Regions from separate parts of the Homo sapiens genome. Here all the other regions are linked to region 2. Evidence: promoter capture Hi-C in 16 types of primary human blood cells and fetal thymus (Javierre and others, 2016). All regions are on one chromosome and are shown on one strand. Each heading gives the region's core, a stretch centred on a gene start or on the middle of the fragment in contact. The rest is flanking DNA. Distances are from core to core; before and after follow the strand shown. Region 1 overlaps ZFY (zinc finger protein Y-linked). Region 2 holds the start of SRY (sex determining region Y). Region 3 overlaps ZFY (zinc finger protein Y-linked).

Region 1 (4,595 bases), core at 1,552-4,051, 190 kb before region 2:
TAAATTATTAACTGCTTAATAACATTAACTTATTAACTCTCAAATAAATAATAAAATTTGGAAAGTGATATATATTCCAAATAAGGCCATGGATTTTCATTATGTACTTTTATCTTCTAATCAAAATCAACTTGACTGTTGTCTTTTTAAAACTTTACTCAATGTAAAATAGAAAGCAGGATGAAGTTGCTAATTTGGAATTAGCTCTCATTCTGTTACATGGTACCATCATTTTCCCTTAGTCCTCCTTACTTTGCAAAGAGACAGCGTTCCTTCACAGGATTCTCAGAAAAATACTATGAAATCTATGTCTGAAATAGCTTTCCAGAAAAATTTATGATATGAAGCTGAAATTGTATGAAAACATTCTATCTAGAAACATCTTACCTTCCATTTTTATCTATCAAAGATTATTTGAAGAGAAGATTTTCACTCTCCTAATGTCCTTTTCTTTTTAATTATTCACCTCAAATTTAGTAACTGAATAACAAGTTACAAAATGCTCTCATACATCTCTGGATCTTTCAGGTTATTGTAAATTTTCATCATAAGTTTAAAATTTGTGGTTGTGTGTGTAAATATGTAATAAGCAACAAAGATGCATATACAAGATTTAGAGTTACACACCAAGTTTCAAAAAATCCTGAGTCCACAATTTACCTCTAAAAGACTCCAAAATTCAGTGAGCAGTAAGTCTCATGTGTTGGAACACAATGCAAGACAAAGCAGTACAAAGAGAAAACAGAAGATAAAAATAAGTAAAACTATTACTTTCTAAAAGTTTGCTGTGCTGACAAAAGATGTAAACACTATTAATGAAAGTTAAGGGAAGTACATTTTGTCTGCTGAACAAAATGAAATTTAAACATAAACGTGGTCAATATCCTATATTAATCAATGCTAGAAGCTCAAATGTAAAATTTTATCATGTAATCTGAAAATACTGACAAAAAAATTATTACCACGTTTTGCTAATTGGACTTGACAGTAAAACCTCCCATTTATATTAGCAGATGTCTCCAATGTGAAACACTTGTGTAGGAGGAAATGGGTCAAAAATGTTACTTTCATAGTTATCAATCTGATTTTGTCTTAGAAGAGTACCATGAACATGAATAAATATGTAAATAAATAGTAAAGCTTTTATGACTGAAAATTCAGTATAGAATCACAAATTATTTTATTATAAGCAACTTGCTTGTTGCTATTTTTCCTCATCTATTAAAGAAACTGAATAGGATTCAGGACAGCGTATTGAATAAAATGTAAAGAAAAGTGGACTAGAAGCAATAATTCTATTTTTACACAGCATAATTCAATGTATAGTAATGGATGTGAACAAGACTGGCTTTAAAAAATGAATTTTCTGCTTCAAGGCCAACATCTTTACAAGCTTGTAGACACACTGTTAGGGCAGACCAACTTCTTTATGGTGTCTCATTATGTGCTGGTTCTTTTCTGAAGGTCTTCGGAAGCCTTTCTTGCAGTACTCACACCGATGAGGATAGTCTTTTGTATGAATGGAAATAACGTGCCGTTTAAAGCCTGAGGCATCTGTAGTGCTATACTCACAGTACTCACACTGATATACTTTCCTGCCACTGTGTGTCTTCATATGCTTTTTAAGCTCATTTTGTTGCCTAAATCCCTTTCTACATCTCTTACACCTAAATGGAAGATCCTTTGTGTGAACTGAGAGAATATGGCGACTTAGAACAAATGGGTCTGCAATCTTAAAGTCACAATGTCTACATTGGTGCATTTTTTTACCTTTGTGGACAGCCACATGTTTCTTAAGTTCTGAAGGCCTGTGAAAGCCTTTCTCGCACATCTCACACTTATGAGGATAGTCTTTCGTATGAACTGAAATTACATGTCGTTTCAAATCACTTGAGTTTGAACTCTTGTGGTCGCAATGCAAACACTGATGTGTTTTGCTTTCTTGGTGGACAAGAGTATGTTGCTGCACTTCTTTGGTATCTGAGAAAGTCAGAAGACAAATGTCACACTTGAATGGCATCTCTTTACTATGCTTTGTTTTTATATGTGTTTTCAAGTTAGAAGAGTCTGCAGACCTATATTCACAGTACTGGCATTGGTATGGCTTCTCGCCGGTATGGATTCGCATGTGCTTTCTCAGTTCCGACGGGTGTCGGAAACCTTTACCACACTCCACACAAATATGAGGAAAGTTCTTGCTGTGGACTGCCAAGAGGTGGCGATTCAATAACCCCTGTTCAGCTGTCTCATATTCACAGAATTTACACTTGTGCATTTTGTTGGCCCCTTTTTCCTTATGCACCATTTTGTGAGTAAACAAAGCCCCTGCATGAGAAAAATGCTTCCCACACTCATCACATTCAATGGCCTTCTCTGCCTTGCTGGTCAGCTTGTGGCTCTCCAGGTGGTTATGTAAACTTATCTTCTTATTGGTAGTGTAATCACAGTCAGTACAGTGGTACTTCTTCTTGGCAAGGTGTTCAGGATGGTTTTTCATGTGTCTTTTCAAAAAACCCCTCGACTTAAACTTCTTCCCACAAATCATGCAAGGATAGACAGTCAAAGGATGACCATCAGGGCCAATAATTATTGCTAAGAAAGGAAAAGAAAGCAGTATGAGTGCTTAATCAAACTTCTGGTCTCCTCATGAATTTTTTAAAGCTTGTGTTCTGAACATTAGTGGGCAAATACTTTTAAATTATTAACATTCCTTTTACTGCTTTTCAATGTTAAGAGTTATAATAATGTCCTAATCGAGAGAACTGGTTTGGTTAAGTATGAACCAATCTCACCCCCTCCAGTTAAAAAAAAAAAATCAATCAAGCAGTGACAAAAGAACATGAATTTAGAAATGTGTAGCAAATAACTCATAAAAATCAAGTCCAGCATTTCTGCTTTGGTGACTGACTCCAAGCCAAATATATGCAAACAGTAAAGCTTAACTGCACCTATAAATAAATTTTAATATGCAAAGCAGCATTCAAAACAACATAGGATAGTAATCAGTCCTACAAATAACCTAGGTACTTCTTCCACTTCTCGGTAAATTATACCTGCTTTATGCTAGTATAAGTAGATCCATGTAATTTCGTTCACTTAAAGTTAGGTAACATTTTAGAAATTTATTTTCCTTTTCACTAAAATCACCAGAGGATTTTAATTCTTTTTCCTGAATGGTTGATGCACAACTGTTTCTTCTTATCCAAGAAAACCATTCATGAATATCACTGAATTTTGAAATTTTTTCTTTCAAATTCAACACATAAAAATACATGTGGCCTACTAGCTAAAACTCCATCATAACACCCCTGTGGAACTCACCTGTTTGGTACTGCCTGGAATCAGGTCTTCTCTTTTTCTTTGGTTTCTGTTTAGCCAGTCTGCCAAGGCCAGCAGACTCATCTATGTGCAAGAGGGCACTTGCAGTGCCATTCCGGTTTTCAATTCCATCAGAATTATTACCTAACAATGTGCATTAAAACACAGAATTACACAACATTATAAATTCTAAAGAATTACGAATTCTTTATTAACAACAAGAAGTCCTGACACTCATGAATGACAGAAAGTCCTTACTTTATTTATTTTTATTCTTTTTTTTTTTTTTTTTTTTTTTTTTTTGAGACAGAGTCTTGCTCTGTCACCCAGGCTGGAGTACAGAGGTGTAATCTTGGCTCACTGCAACCTCCTCCTCTCAGGTTCAAGTGATTATCCTGCCTCAGCATCCTGAATAGCTGGGATTACAGGAACAACGCCATCACACCCATCTCATTTTTTTGTATTTTTAGTAGAGAGGAGGTTTCACCATATTGGCCAGGCTGATCTTGAACTCCTGACCTCAGGTCATCCACCTGCCTCAGACTCCCAAAGTGCTGGGATTACAGGCAAGAGCCACACCTGGCCCCCAATTGTAGACCATGTGTTTTATGGGCATATATATGGCAAGACCAGGGGAAGTGCCTAGCTTCCGTATCTAGCAGCATGCTGCTCTACTGGACTCCCTGCTATCTCCCAAAAATTGTAAAGTTATGTGTCACCTATAAACCAAGATTTAAAATGTTAGACTGAAAGCTCCCACACTTCTTACATAATAAAAGAAGTTCATGTTAAAATTAAAGGCAACAGGGAGACTATTTAATCCTCCTCTACTTTTGCTTAAATCATGAAACCCTAAAAAAAACCCTTTTTTTTTTTTTTTTTTTTTTTTTTTTTTTTTTTTTTGAGATGGAGTCTTGCTCTGCTGCCCAGGCTGGAGTGCAGTGGCGCAATCTCAGCTCACTGCAAGCTCCACCTCCCAGGTTCACGCCATTCTCCTGCCTCAGCCTCCTCAGTAGCTGGGATTACAGGTGCCTGCCACCACGTCTGGCTAATTTTTTAAAAATATTTTTTAGTAGAGACAGGGTTTCACCATGTTAGCCAGGATGGTCTCAATCTCCTGACCTCGTGATCCGCCTGCCTCAGCCTCCCAAAGTGCTGGGATTACAGACATGAGCCACCACGCCTGGCCAACAGAAACCACTTTCAACAGTGAATTAATGTTCAAAAACTACTCAATCCTTCTGGCTTCTATGTAAGTTACCATAAGCTGCTGCCCA
Region 2 (4,570 bases), core at 695-3,194:
TGACTTTTTACCCAAACCACTGATTCAAGGACTTTTGCGTAGAAACTCATGAACTGTTAAGATAACCCTTCATTACCAATTAAGATAATAGGTTGTAAGTAACCTAATGAGTACCAACTTTCTCTTATTTCCTTTAAAAACTGTCTCTCAAAACAGCCGGTCACGACACAATGTCAGATGCTTCTGGAATCTGTTTCTCTAATTACAGTTCTAAAACTGCCAACAAACTCCTTATTTGGACTTCAGTTTCTCTGACTCTTTGGTTCACCATGTTGTGCAGCCATCACCTCTCTCTAGTTCCAGAGCATATTTTATCAATCCTCAAAAGAAACCGTGCATCCACCAGCAGTAACTCCCCACAACCTCTTTCATCCAGTCCTTAGCAACCATTAATCTGGTTTTAGTCTCTATTCATTTGCCTTTCCTGGATATTTCATATACATGGGATCATTCAGTATCTGGCCTCTTGTATCTGACTTTTTCACACAGTGTAACATTTTCAAGGTTCACCTATGTGGTGCCTTGTGTCATTTTTTGCTATTTTCATGTCAGGTTTTGAAATGGTATGTTTTTTCTCATCTTGTAAGGGATTTCCTGTTGTAGAAAATCTGTTTCTGTGTATGACTGCAATTTAACCATTTTATTTGCTATCCAGATACATGTTTTAACTTGAGCCAACTATATTTCCACTTTGTATAATGAATACTAAATTTTGTATCTTAGATACTAAACTTTAGTAGATAACTAGGATACAAATTACAGTTTTCATATTTTTCTTTTCATGGAATATAATTTTTTAAAGTTTCTGATATTAATTCATTATAACATTTACTGGACAAACCAACCACATTTGGTTCTATGAACTCTTTTCATATTTTACGGGATTTTTATTTTGTTGTCTTAGGAATTGTGGCATCATTCAGTTTTGCTGAGAGTTTATTTTTATTAATAGGTTCTGTGTACTATGCAACCTGTAGTTGTTACTCCTGTTTTGCAAATATGGCATTAAAACATTGGTGAGTGGGGGGACTTTCCTCCCATTTTATTTCAGCAAAGAAATCTTGTCATTTCTCTTCAGACTTTAAGATTTATTGAGGAGAGTTATTCACTTGTTTAGTCTGGTAAACTGTGACCTTTAAATTTTGAAGGAGGTTGAACTAAAAGGTGAAATATGATAAATTGATGGCTCTATTTGTTGTGAATGGAAATTTAATTTAGACTTGTAAAAGATTGTTTTTTAAATTGCTAATTGTGTGACAGTGAAGAGAATGACTTCAAAATATCCCACTATACAATCTGCAAAGAAAAGAATTGTGTCCCCTTTTTAGTGTAGCTTAACACTTCACTGAAACTGTTTTGAGTTCTTAGGTCATATTTTTTTTTCTCTAAACGAAACAATTACTTTTCTAAAAGTCAAATGTTAGCCATCCTAGAAGTTGGGCATAAAATACTTGTAAGTATATGCTAATATTCTGATACTTAATGCCTGTGAAAAATGTGTATAGAATTTTCAATTTTTAAATAGAAGTGAAGAAAAAGCGATAATAATTACTATAAATTCAATATGCAGTTATGTATGTATGTGTGTGGTTAAGACAATTAGGTTCTCATTAAGCTTTGTTTTTTTAAAGATAACATACACATATATTGATAATGATAAACAATTCATATAGCTTTTTGTGTCCTCTCGTTTTGTGACATAAAAGGTCAATGAAAAAATTGGCGATTAAGTCAAATTCGCATTTTTCAGGACAGCAGTAGAGCAGTCAGGGAGGCAGATCAGCAGGGCAAGTAGTCAACGTTACTGAATTACCATGTTTTGCTTGAGAATGAATACATTGTCAGGGTACTAGGGGGTAGGCTGGTTGGGCGGGGTTGAGGGGGTGTTGAGGGCGGAGAAATGCAAGTTTCATTACAAAAGTTAACGTAACAAAGAATCTGGTAGAAGTGAGTTTTGGATAGTAAAATAAGTTTCGAACTCTGGCACCTTTCAATTTTGTCGCACTCTCCTTGTTTTTGACAATGCAATCATATGCTTCTGCTATGTTAAGCGTATTCAACAGCGATGATTACAGTCCAGCTGTGCAAGAGAATATTCCCGCTCTCCGGAGAAGCTCTTCCTTCCTTTGCACTGAAAGCTGTAACTCTAAGTATCAGTGTGAAACGGGAGAAAACAGTAAAGGCAACGTCCAGGATAGAGTGAAGCGACCCATGAACGCATTCATCGTGTGGTCTCGCGATCAGAGGCGCAAGATGGCTCTAGAGAATCCCAGAATGCGAAACTCAGAGATCAGCAAGCAGCTGGGATACCAGTGGAAAATGCTTACTGAAGCCGAAAAATGGCCATTCTTCCAGGAGGCACAGAAATTACAGGCCATGCACAGAGAGAAATACCCGAATTATAAGTATCGACCTCGTCGGAAGGCGAAGATGCTGCCGAAGAATTGCAGTTTGCTTCCCGCAGATCCCGCTTCGGTACTCTGCAGCGAAGTGCAACTGGACAACAGGTTGTACAGGGATGACTGTACGAAAGCCACACACTCAAGAATGGAGCACCAGCTAGGCCACTTACCGCCCATCAACGCAGCCAGCTCACCGCAGCAACGGGACCGCTACAGCCACTGGACAAAGCTGTAGGACAATCGGGTAACATTGGCTACAAAGACCTACCTAGATGCTCCTTTTTACGATAACTTACAGCCCTCACTTTCTTATGTTTAGTTTCAATATTGTTTTCTTTTCTCTGGCTAATAAAGGCCTTATTCATTTCAGTTTTACTGGTATTTCATTTTAAACTTAATTTCAAGACAAGTTGTGTCAACACGATTAACATGCAAAGAAATAAGACATCCAGAAGTGAGCCTGCCTATGTTTGTGGCCGTCAGAGTACTAACTTGATACAAACGGACACTGTGGCTTACTTTAAATGCTCTAATGAGAAACACACTTGAAAATTGTACCAAAAAAAATCACACTTCTATATGCAGCGTGTTAAGCAGTCCTCTCTAGACCGTGTATTCATTGGTCTTTCAGCTACTTTGTACGTGTCTATAAATTGCAGGTAACTAAGGAATGGATATGTAAGCAGGATCAAACTTGTTTCTTTCTCTCCCCTTCACGCTGTGGAAAAAACCAGTTTTACCTCCACTTGCAATTCAGTTCCTTTACTCCATATAAATCCAAACGGTTGACATTTCCTTTCAACTAGTTATAAAATGCCTCTGGTAAAACAAAATATTTAATTCCTTGTCATTTTTGTATCTCTATGAAACTTATCATTTTGCCTTTCTTCTGAAAACTATCTTTTAAAATGGCAATCTACTTGTTTCCATGGCCTATTAACTTTTAAGCCTGTGGAATGAAAAATACAGAATTTTCATTCTCAACAGGAATGTTGAGAACGCCGACTACCCAGATTATGGAGATGGAAGGGCGGGGGCTGGTGACCCAACTGGTTTAATTTGATGGGATTTAAATAAAAATGTAATGCCAAGACTTCATAAAATTTGCACATAAGCTAAAGCAGGAAACTAGAAGTTTACAAATAACTGTAAACCACAGTTTAAAGTATAAATTACAAATAAATTTTTCTACAATAAAAATAAATCAAAAGTCAAAATTAATGGTATGTATCAAAGTCAGCTTTCCAATATTTCAAAACTTTTCAGAGACATTACCTTAAATAATAAAACTCAAACACTAAAAGAGTGTATATTAGAGATGGATGTCATGTTTCTCAAAGTTCAGGGTTTAAAAAAAGCTTTATTCCAGAGACAATATTACTTAATCTGAGCTTTATGCCAAATGAGAACTGTATATTGCCCATTACCTTTTAAACACTGACTCAAAACTACTTTGTAATATTTAAAACCACTCTTTTCACTCTCCCAAAAATAACACCCATTCTGACCTTCATTACCATACATTAATTTTCCTTTTCTTGAACCTCTGACACAGATTCTCTGTTTGACCAAACTTTAGTCAGGTTTCTGAACCTTCTCCTAGACTCGCCTGTGCACTTCCTTGCCAAACTCAGTTTTGGCAAAGAACTCTCCTAAGCCAGGTTAGCCAGACTGTACCCCCACCGCATATCTGATCACACTCAACACTTGATCGATCACCCTCAATATCTGATCAGGTTTCTCATCCTCCACCACCCTCTAGGTGATGTCTGATCAGCCTAGCCTGTCTTCAGCAAGAATCCTCCTTATCTATGATGTCTTCTCTTAGTGATTGTCCATCCATTGACCCTACTCCCTGCTCCTTGGCTATAAATCCCCACCTACCCAGCTGTGTATGTGGAGCTAAGGCCAATCTCTCCCCCAGTGCAAGACCTCATTGCTGTGCTGTTGGTCGTGAATAGTCTTCCTTATCAAGTTTGAACAAGTATCACTGAATACCATTTTTCCTTAACAATGTGAATAAATATAAATACAAAATATTATGTGGAGCTTCTTTTGCTTAATACATTTTGGTGGTTTTCAGATTATTAAAAATTATGACATCATGCATGTATACATTTTGGAAAGACTAAATCAAGCTAATGTATCTACTACCTCATATACTTCCC
Region 3 (4,241 bases), core at 1,136-3,635, 160 kb before region 2:
AGATGACTCCCTCTTGCCTTCTATCAGTAACCCCCATGATTTTTTTTTTTTTTTTTGTAAACAGGGCCTCTGGCTCTGTCATACAGGCTAAACTGTAAGTGGCACAGTTCACTGCAGCCTCAACTTCTCAGGCTCAAGCAATGCTCACCCCTCAGCCCAACTACTTGGGACTACAAGTATGTGTCACCAAACCTGGCTAATTTTTAAAGTATCTTTTTGTATAGACAAGGTCTAACTATGTTGCCCAGGCTGGTGTCAAAGTCCTGAGCTTGAGCAATCCTCCCACCTCAGCCTCACAAAGTACTGGGATTACAGGAATGTTATTGTGTCTGGCACCCATGATTAACTCTCAACTTTAACACATTCTGTAGGTTTTTGCTGCAAGACTGTATTACATCTCTATATTTAACATAGTCTCCAGTCTTTCTACAGTAAATTAACAAAATGGTAAAAAACTCAAAATTCCTAATAATTATAAGCACTCCTCAGATTTCTGTGTAGCTTAAAAGCCCTCCCCATTCTCTCCCCTCAGAGACAGGGTCTCACCCTGTCACCCAGACTGGAGTGCAGTGGCATGATCATGGCTCACTGCAGCCTCCAACTCCTAGGCTCAAGTAATCCTCTTACTTCAGCCTCCCAAGCAGCTAGGACTAATGACACATGCCACTATGTCCAGCTCCCTTACTGTATTTTTAGCACATGCTATGGTCACTTATGTGTGTCAATTTTCAAATATTAAACTATATGATAAGGCAATATGCAAGTGAGAAACCAATGGATTTCCAAAGTGTTTCTCTGAAACAGATCTACTCAATTTAAAGAAAGTGTGTTTTATGACATTCAAACTGCTTCAAATAAAAAGGCCATGATGACTACACTAATATTTTGTCAACCACAGAAAAAGAAAAAGGGCACCTGCTCTAAATAAGCTGTCACTGCTCCCTCTACCCAAACAATCTCTGGCTTCATTAATTTTTCCCCTCTTAAAAAAATGTAATTATAAAATTATAAATGCAAACTAATCTTCTCTGCATAATTAAAGAAAACCACATGAAATTAAGGCAATGAATGATGGAATAAATGTGATTTGTTGGATTATTGAAGTGACCTTCCAATTTTCCTAAAAACAGCAATTTCATTAGTTCTAATAAAAGATCAACTTGTGGGCCAGGCATGGTGGCTCACGCCTGTAATCCCAGGACTTTAGGAAGCTGAGGCAGGTGGATCACAAGGTCAGGAGATCAAGACCACCTGGTGTCTTGACAGTACAGACAGTGAAACCCTGTCTCTACTAAAAATACAAAAAATTAGCCGGGCACTGTGACGGGCATCTGTAGTCCCAGCTACTCGGAAGGCTGAGGCAGGAGAATGGTGTGAACCCGGGAGACGGAGCTCGCAGTGGGCCGAGATCGTGCCACTGCACTCCAGCCTGGGCGACAGAGCGAGACTCCATCTCAAAAAAAAAAAAAAAAAGATCAACTTGTAGCGTAATTTTCCTGTTTCAGGTATTCATCTTCCTTACCTGTCTGTTAGAGTCTGATAGATGATCAGTTTCTTTAATTTTGAAACTCCCTCCTACCTCTTTGTTTATATGATATCTTAGTTCTCTTCTCACCTTCTTAACCGATGGCTACTATAGTCTTGTCCAAGGTTTCACATTCAGCTTTCCTCTCTACTACTTTCTCATTTATTTCCACAGTTTTTAATGACGACTTACGTGAAGATGATCCCCAAAATCCACACGCTGAGAAGGACCTAAAATTTCCATCAGACCGTTTACTGAACATCTTCAAAAATTAAAACCCAGATTTTTCCTGGCACAATCACTATGGCCTTTTCCTCCTTCCCTGACAGTTGGTTTCTCAGATCTTGTCAATTTCTTCTCCACAATTTCTCTGTTATGTTTGCCCTGCTTGTATTCCCATTATCACCAATCACTCTAAGCTTCCTATTTTCTGATCCCTAGAAATGAAAATAGTTTCTGAAATGGCCTTTGTAACACTTCCAAAACAAATGACTAGGAAACCTATTATAAGAAGGGGGTCTTGTAATGCCAACTAACAAGGCATTCCTACAATCTGTAGCCAGATGAATCTTCTTGAAGCACTGCTTTGATCACTCCCTTACCAAGAAGCAGTCTCCAATATTCAGTGACCTCCACATTATTAACCCAAGCTACCACATGACTTATTTACTGTTATTACTCAACTTTGCAACCTAGCTGGACAGCATGTCATTCTTCAAACGATCTTTATGTTTTTACCCTGGCACTCAACATCCTAGAATTTTCTAGGAGGTGAGGTCTTGAAAAAGTGGAGCTATACCTAGTCAACTGTCATTAGCAGGGTCAATAACTGCTAATATTTACAAATATTTATAAATGCAGGAAAATGTCACTATCAGTGACCTAGGGACATAGTGCTAGTGTCTCATGTATGTAACCAAACATCTGTGCCACAGATAGCTAAATTCTGGTTTAATCATTCTGAAACAGGCAATAAAGAGAAAAGAGCTCAAACAAGTGAGAAACCAACCACGAACTGCTACATTCTAGGACTCTATTCAGCACAACACCTACAAACTCAAAATCTTGAATGAAAGAGGGTTAAGTATAATTTTACGTCATATACATATCCCTACTATGTACTTGAGCCTATGATAAGGGCTGACCACCAATCCAATCTTCACTATAGTGAGCAATCATTCTTCAACAACACATTTGACTGATTATTGTCCTATTTTATCACGGCGAAAACTGACAGAGGCACAAGAGGTTCTTTTGCACTTCACTGTAAAGATGACCACACCTTTACGTTAGTAAGCTTTCTTGGGTTACAAATGCCAATTTCTTCCTACAACCAGAACAAAACCATGCTCTTAATGGTAATAATATTAACACAATTTTGATAAGGTGAAAAATAAGTTCCCATGATTTCACAGTAATTTCCCATGCCTTTGTAGTAAGAACCAAGCTTAGAGATCAGCTGAATTGGAAGACAAATAAGCAGAATGATCCAGAGGATCCACTCTGAAAAATAATTTAGGCCTGGTGTGGTGGCTTAATCCTGTAATCCCAGCATTTTGAGGGACCACGGGAGGGGGATCACTGGAGTCCAGGAGTTCTAGACAAGTCTAGGCAAATAGTTGGATCCCTTCTCTACAAAAAAAATTAAAAATTAGCTGGACGTCGTGGTGCACCTGTGGTCCCAGCTACTTGGGAAGCTGAGGTAGGAAGGATCATTGGAGCCTGAGAGGTCACGTAGCCATGACAGTGAGCTATGATTACACCACTGCACTCCAGCCTGGGTGACAGAGCAAGACAATGTCTCTATAAAAAACTGCAAAATTAGCCAGATGTGGTGGTGCATGCCTTCAGTCCTAGCTACAGTGGTATGAAGATGAGAAAACAACTAATAGCTAGTAAACCAAAAAAGGAGAAATAAAGCAATGTAAAGTAGAAAACCATTCTACAAACATATATATGAGTGTGTGTTTGTGTGTGTATGTGTATATATATGGGTTTTTTTGGTGTTCTTTTTTTTTGAGACAGGGTCTTGCTCTGTCACCCAGGATGGAGTGCAGTGGTGTGACCATGACTCACTACCGCCTCGACCTCCCACGCTCAAGCGATCCTCTCATCTCAGTCTCCAGAGTAGCTGAGACTACAGGCACTTACCAACATGCCTGGGTAATCTTTTTTTTTTTTTTTTTTTTTTTTTTTTTTGTAGACATGAGGGTCTCAGTACATTGACCAAGCTGGTCTTTCACTCCTGGCCTCAAGGTAACTGCCTGTCTCTGCCTCCAAAGTGCTGGGATTATAAATGTAAGCCATCACAGCCAGCAATATTGCTAAAATAATCTCGATAAAGGCTCTTGAAAATTTATTAGCTTTCACAAGTAATGTAAGAGTGCCTATTTCCCAAAAACTAATAAGCATCACAGACTTTAATTTTTTGGCCAGGTTGGGTGCCGTGGCTCACCCCAGTAATCCTAGCACTCTGGGACGCTAAGGCAGGTGGAATGCTTGAACCCAGGAATTTAAACCCAGCCTGGCCAACATGGTGAAACCCCATCTTTACAAACAATACAAAAATTAGCCAATCATGATAGTGGGTACCTGTAGTCAGTTATCTGGGGTTTGAGGAGGGAGAACTGCTTGAGCCCAGGAGGTTGAGGCTGCAGTGAGCCATAATCTTGTCACTGTACTCCAGCCTGGGCAACAGAACTAAACTGTCTCAAAA

The links. Contacts are between HindIII fragments. The CHiCAGO score rates a contact against its expected background, and 5 or more counts as called.
Region 1: a fragment that was not itself captured here is called in contact with the fragment with the promoter of SRY in region 2 in 6 of 17 cell types (activated CD4 T cells, total CD8 T cells, M1 macrophages and 3 more); the score reaches 9.0 in activated CD4 T cells.
Region 3: a contact is called between a fragment that was not itself captured here and the fragment with the promoter of SRY in region 2, in 10 of 17 cell types (M1 macrophages, total CD8 T cells, naive CD4 T cells and 7 more). The highest score is 11.9, in M1 macrophages.

What each region holds. Positions count from the first base shown.
Region 1 is chrY:2,976,807-2,981,401 of GRCh38, reverse strand. It overlaps ZFY (zinc finger protein Y-linked), which reads right to left. Exons shown (of 8, transcript NM_003411.4): 6 at 4,580-4,595; 7 at 3,322-3,462; 8 at 1-2,592. The coding sequence ends at 1,409. The region is part of intron 2 of ZFY-AS1 (ZFY antisense RNA 1); the gene reads left to right. Among named protein-coding and RNA genes, the nearest start is that of ZFY-AS1, 24 kb to the left of the region's middle. The HindIII fragment of the contact is 276 bases long and covers 2,664-2,939 here.
Region 2 is chrY:2,785,056-2,789,625 of GRCh38, reverse strand. It overlaps SRY (sex determining region Y), which reads left to right and starts at 1,944. Exons shown (of 1, transcript NM_003140.3): 1 at 1,944-2,771. The coding sequence starts at 2,023. The coding sequence ends at 2,637. RefSeq lists promoters at 1,613-1,926, 1-1,926, 1-2,022. The HindIII fragment of the contact is 2,145 bases long and covers 1,618-3,762 here.
Region 3 is chrY:2,949,152-2,953,392 of GRCh38, reverse strand. The region is part of intron 1 of ZFY (zinc finger protein Y-linked); the gene reads right to left. Among named protein-coding and RNA genes, the nearest start is that of ZFY, 16 kb to the right of the region's middle. The HindIII fragment of the contact is 878 bases long and covers 1,947-2,824 here.